Linked DNA regions of Homo sapiens: region 1 is linked to region 2. The links are contacts of gene promoters, found by promoter capture Hi-C in human tissues and cell types (Jung and others, 2019). All regions are on one chromosome and are shown on one strand. Each heading gives the region's core, a stretch centred on a gene start or on the middle of the fragment in contact. The rest is flanking DNA. Distances are from core to core; before and after follow the strand shown.

Evidence for each region. The method cuts DNA at HindIII sites, captures the fragments that hold promoters and counts their contacts. A contact is called where the count stands out against the background at its distance.
Region 1: a fragment that was not itself captured here is called in contact with the fragment with the promoter of ABHD10 in region 2 in 1 of the 25 tissues and cell types used here (heart right ventricle).

The regions. Positions count from the first base shown.
Region 1 is chr3:111,826,561-111,829,399 of GRCh38, reverse strand. All of the region lies in intron 2 of LOC105374040 (a long non-coding RNA gene), which reads left to right. It also overlaps a transcript of PHLDB2 not described here. Among named protein-coding and RNA genes, the nearest start is that of PHLDB2, 31 kb to the left of the region's middle. The HindIII fragment of the contact is 8,289 bases long and covers 1-2,839 here.
Region 2 is chr3:111,977,642-111,980,341 of GRCh38, reverse strand. It overlaps ABHD10 (abhydrolase domain containing 10, depalmitoylase), which reads right to left and starts at 1,316. Exons shown (of 5, transcript NM_018394.4): 1 at 1,139-1,316. The coding sequence starts at 1,280. RefSeq lists enhancers at 1,077-1,126, 1,147-1,196, 1,207-1,256, 1,115-1,674. The HindIII fragment of the contact is 5,717 bases long and covers 1-2,700 here.

The sequences.
Region 1 (2,839 bases), core at 138-2,637, 150 kb after region 2:
AAGAATAATGGAAGAACCAGGAATCCAGGATGGGAGAGTTGAGTGAGCATGATACCTTCCTTTAGGGAGGAGAAACAATCCATTGGCTAGTTTGAGTTGTTTTTCAGTCATAGTGATGGATTTGAACAATCCATCCAACTCTTTCACCCAGTTCTTCTCTTTAGTAATTGCATGCCTTTGCGAGATGGGGCAATGTGGGAGAGATGTGGGAAGATAAATGGCCCTTCAGAGGTTTCCATGACTTTTTAGAATTTTAGTGTGTTGGCTCTAATTAATGCTGTCAATAGGAGAAGGGAAATGTCTAAAACTCTGGGTGAACAGTCACTTAGCTACTCAGAAAAACATTTGGAAATTAGAAAAAACATTGTCAACATTTATATGTGTTCCTTTTGATCTAACAAGCGTCTATATTCCCTTTCCTCTAAGAGAAAAGATCCAGTAGGTTTGGCTGGTTGGCTAATACCAGAGGACCACTGTGATGTCTTCATATTTATACTACACAGTGTGTGGCATTTGGCAGGGACTCAATAGATGTTTTCTAGGTTTCATTAAATTGACTGAGTCAAGTGGAAGGTATAATCTTTTTTGTTTGTTTGTTTGTTTGTTCATTTTGTTTTTGAGACAGATCTCACTCTGTCGCCCAGGCTGGAGTGCTGTGGCGCAATCTTGGCTAGTCACTGCATCCTCTGCCTCCAGGCTCAAATGATTCTTCCACATTCACCTCCTGAGCAACTGGAACTACCAGTGCACACCACCACACCCGGCTAATTTTTGTAGAGACAGGGTCTCCCTGTGTTGTCAGTCTGGTCTCGAACTCCTGGGCTCAAACGATCCGCCAGCCTCAACCTCCCAAAGTGCTGGGATTACAGGCGTGAACCACTGTGCCTGGCCACAGTCTTTTAAAAGCCAAAACTATTTAAAAATATTCATAAAATGTTTATTAAGTATGTCATTCAATATGTGTTCATAGATTACCTGAGCAGGGGAAATTAGATAGGGGAAATCAAAAGATGATCCATTGACAGATAGACTGGAAGTTCCCTGTCACTGGTAGGAAGCATTACCAGCATCTAAATCAATCAGTGCACAGGAGGATATTGGGGCTGGGGCAGGGCAACTTCAGCTGCCTCTGTGTTTACAAAGCAGTTGGACTTCAGTTGCTATAACTCTCTTGGCCTTTCTCTCCCAGTTGGTTCACTCTGCCCCAGAAGAGAAGGGGAAACTCTTCCATGGGAGCATTTGGGAAATACACTGGTTCTGTGTAGTTGAGAGCTAGCTGACCTCAGGAGCTACAGTGGCTGAGCTCCTTTGTGGTCTGGTTTACAGAGGCAGGCCCCTATGGGGAGGTGCACTGTGAATAGCTGTTAGTCTACCTAATTTTGGAATGCAGTTTTAGGAAGTCCTCTGTTGCACTGCACGTAAGCTATACCCTCCTTTGTCAGCTTTATAGTAATGAAGGTGACATTTTTATCTCCTTCTGCCAGACTTCCATGTCTATCTTTTCATTGTTTTCATTTGGAAATATGTACTGAGCCCTTAGACTGTGCCAAGCACTCTAGTAAGCCCTGAGACTCTACCTACAGAAGCTCACAGTGTAGCATATTTATAATGCAGTTGAACAAGTGGGTGAGCATGAAGCTTCCCAGGAAGAAACAGTCTGAACCGAGTTGCTCAGTTTTTGGTCTTTCCTTTTTTTTTTTTTTTTTTTTTTTTTGAGACGGATTCTCGTCTCGCTCTGTCGCTCAGGCCGGCGTGCAATGGCACAATCTCCAATCTCGGCTCACTGCAAGCTCCGCCTCCCGGGTTGACGCCATTCTCCGCCTCAGCCTCCCGAGTAGCTGGGACTACAGGCGCCTGCCACAACACCCGGCTAATTTTTTGTATTTTTAGTAGAGATGGGGTTTCACCGTGTTAGCTAGGATGGTATCTATCTCCTGACCTCGTGATCCGCCCACCTGGGCCTCCCAAAGTGCTGGGATTACAGGCGTGAGCTACCGCGCCCGGCCTGGTCTTTCCTTAACCGAGTCATAACAGAGTGGGATTTGGCCAGAAGGTAGTCGGGTGTGGTAAGAGCTTAGGCTGCAGAGGCAGTAGGAGCTCAGTTCTGAAAGGCTCTCCTTAAAAGCCATACTAAGGGCCCTGGATTTTGCCTGGTAGGCAACAGACAGCTGGTTAAAAGGTTAGAGGAAGGATGTGGTCACATTTCTGTCTTAAATAAGTCAGTTTGATAGGTTGGAGGATCAATTTGAACAGGACAAGCCTAAAGAGACTAGTTTGCAGGTTGTTCTAGGTGAGAAATTATAAGGAAGTGACTTAGTAGCACCTCTGTTTTTTGTTTGTTTTTCCTTTCCTTTTTTCTCTTGGACATTGTGACATGAGCTAATGCACAAAAAGCATTTGCGTTTAACTGCAGTTCATAGCAAGAACTCAATAAATGTCGGCCATCATCATTTTCTTTTTCTAAATCATCACGTCATTTCCATCATCATCATCAGCAGAGGCAGTAATTTCTCCCTTACTACTCATCCTAAATAATGAGCAGCCTCCTAGAGGCAGGCTGCTCCCAGAAGAAGAGAGCCATAGAACCTTCTCTCAGACGGCTCTGGTTCAGCTGATCAAACCACTCCCTGCACCCACTCCCACGCCACCACCACATGACTACACCTCCCCTGGCAGAATTGCCAAAGATCCTGCATTCCTACCCTGGCCGTGGAGCAAAACTGCGGCATTACTGTTGGGTATTAAGGATTTCCTCTTTGTTTTACTGTTATCATGCTTTCATCTAGCCAGAACTCTACTTACCTGATAGAAAATGTAGGGTTCAATTCTTTGTTTAGCT
Region 2 (2,700 bases), core at 67-2,566:
ACATAAAAGCTTGTTTCAAAGTATAGAGAAATATGCCAAATTTAAAACTTTTGGTAAGGACCAGTTATGCTGATCCACTCATGTTCATTTCCCATCTACTCAGCTGAGCACTAAAAAAAATTCTCACTATCCTCTTCCAGAAATCACCTCTTAAAACATAATTTCCCCGAGATGATTATAATTTATTTAATGTAAGTTCTAAGTAGACAGATTCATATAATTATATTCATAAATCATCTTTGAACATAAGGATTAATTCAAAGCCTGGTGCATAAGTGCTCAATGAATAAGTGCTAACTAGATGAAATAATATTATACTCTGGTTAATGAATTGACATACTACATTTTACTAGGAGTATTTGCATGTGTAACATGCCTTTTGGTTGCGCACAATTAAATGCAAGTTAATCTGATTATAAAAGTTTAAAAACTGGATACAAAAATCTCCATACAAAAGATCTCTGCCGTGACATTAATTACCACTCCAAGCACCATGCATCATCTGACAGCTACGTGGCAATGGTGTGAACCACACACAAAGCCAAAAAAATAAAAGGATCTAATTCAAAGACTATATATACATATAAGAGGTTCTCTGATTTTTAGCCCAAATTCTAGTTTCCTTTGTGCAATAATGATTATGGTTCTTTCACTGAGTGGGTGCAGCAAGAAAGCAGAACTAGAAATTAGGCTTATGAGGGCGTCTACACTTTTACAAAGAACATGCCTCGCATTGTTAGGTTCCCTAAACTCAAAGGAGAGTCAGTCTAAGCATTTTAGGAGTCACAATCTACAAATTCCTAGAAGTAACTAATAATAATGCATTAAATGCACATTTTAATTTTTTCTAGTGTTGGCCTTTAATGCAGGGGAGGCAGGTAAGGAGCAGGAGCTCTTTAAACTGCACAGTGTAAAACGCCAGCGAGGGCCCGGGGTGCCCAGAATGCCGCAGGGCCGCGGCAGAGCTCTCCTCACAGCCTTCACCAGAAGTCTACAAAGCGCCTAGAACTGGGGTGTTGAGAAAGGGGGAGGAGCATTTTTGAACCGGGCGCCAAAGACGCACTGCACAGGCACGGTAACTGACGGAACCCGAGGCGTTCGAAAGAACGCATCCTACTCCCGCCTTTCGGACACTGACCTGGGAGCCACCGTGGCGCCCGCTGAGGTATCCGTGCAAGCAGCACGCTGAGGCCACGGTGGGGACCGAAGGGGACGGCTGCCCAGCCCCAGCTCCGACAAGGTACCCAGGCCGCCACAGCTGCCAAGCGCGCAACCGCCATCTTCGTAGTTGTCCCCGCACCCTGCAGTGTCCCACTGAGGGACACGCTACGCAACGGAACCGAGGCTGCGCATGCGCTTCAGGCTGGAAGGCGGAACTTGCTAAAGAGCTCCCCGCAAGATTTTCAGCTTGCGAAGAGCGCACATGCGCAGAGCGTCGTGGCTCTTTCGTTTAGACTGTTGGTTCTACTAGTAGCGGGGTTTGGCTTGGGGCCTTTAAGATGTTTTGAGTGGCGTCGGGAGGCTGCCCTATCAGCGGGCTGATAGATACTACAGAGCTGGAAGCTCAGAAAGGAACCCTATCCAACGGTCCTAGATGGGAAACGTCTCCTGTCGAGGACACCAGGCTTGCTGCATCACCTGCAATCCCGCCGACCGCGTGACAGTTTTAACCTGTACTGGAAATGCTCCCAAGATCTGACATTAATCTCGCCTGTATAACCTGGAATGGTATCGGACATTCCCCGCTCTAGATCTATATGCCTGATTAACGAAATACTGAATTATCTTGGCCCCCTCCTCGTGCTATATGCGAAAATAAATTTCAGTAAAAAAAGATTTCAACGGAAGAATACAACTGAGAGGATTAAATAAATTTTAGGAGAATATTATATAATCCGGGGACAGAAGGGACTTTCTTAACCAAGATTTCAAAACCCCAACATCATAAATAAAAAATATATTTGTATACGAATTTAAACTTTTTGAATGGCAAAAGACACCTCAAGTTAAGAGCTTAGAAAAATGGATTTTGTAGCATAGATACATTAATACTTCTACTCAGCCTGCTCCTATAAATAAGAAATATAATTCAAATAAAATTGGCCAACAGCTATAAATAGGCAGCCCATATAAGGAAACATGATGCTCAAACTCACTAAATGAAAAACTGGAATTAAAAAAATAATGCCTTTTTCCCCCCATTCAGTTGGCAAAAAAGAAAAATAATTGGCAAGGATGCTAGACACTAGCACTTATGTATGATTGCTAGGAAGGTGAATTACTAAAATTTGTTGTGAAGTAATATGGCCACATCTATTACAATTTTAAAATATGCATCCATTCCAGTGCCTTTTAACGCAGTGGCACCAATTTGTGATTATCCTATAGAAAAACAACACTAGTTCTTAAGACTGCATATTATCTACTACACCGTTTTTAGAGGCAAAGAGAAGGAAAAAAATGGGAATGGCTAACAATAGAAAAATAGTTGAATAAATTGTAGTACAAGGGTTTCCGGACTCCAGCTCTAAATACCTTTCAAACTAATTCCTGGGGGCCTCAAGCATCAACCATGGAGTTTTACGTAGTAGTTTCCTATTTAAAAGTTATGGTGGCTTGTGTAATACTTTGAGTATATATAAGATAGTAAAGTAACTTTTATTATCCTGGTTATAAATTTGGGGGGCAGTAATTGGTACC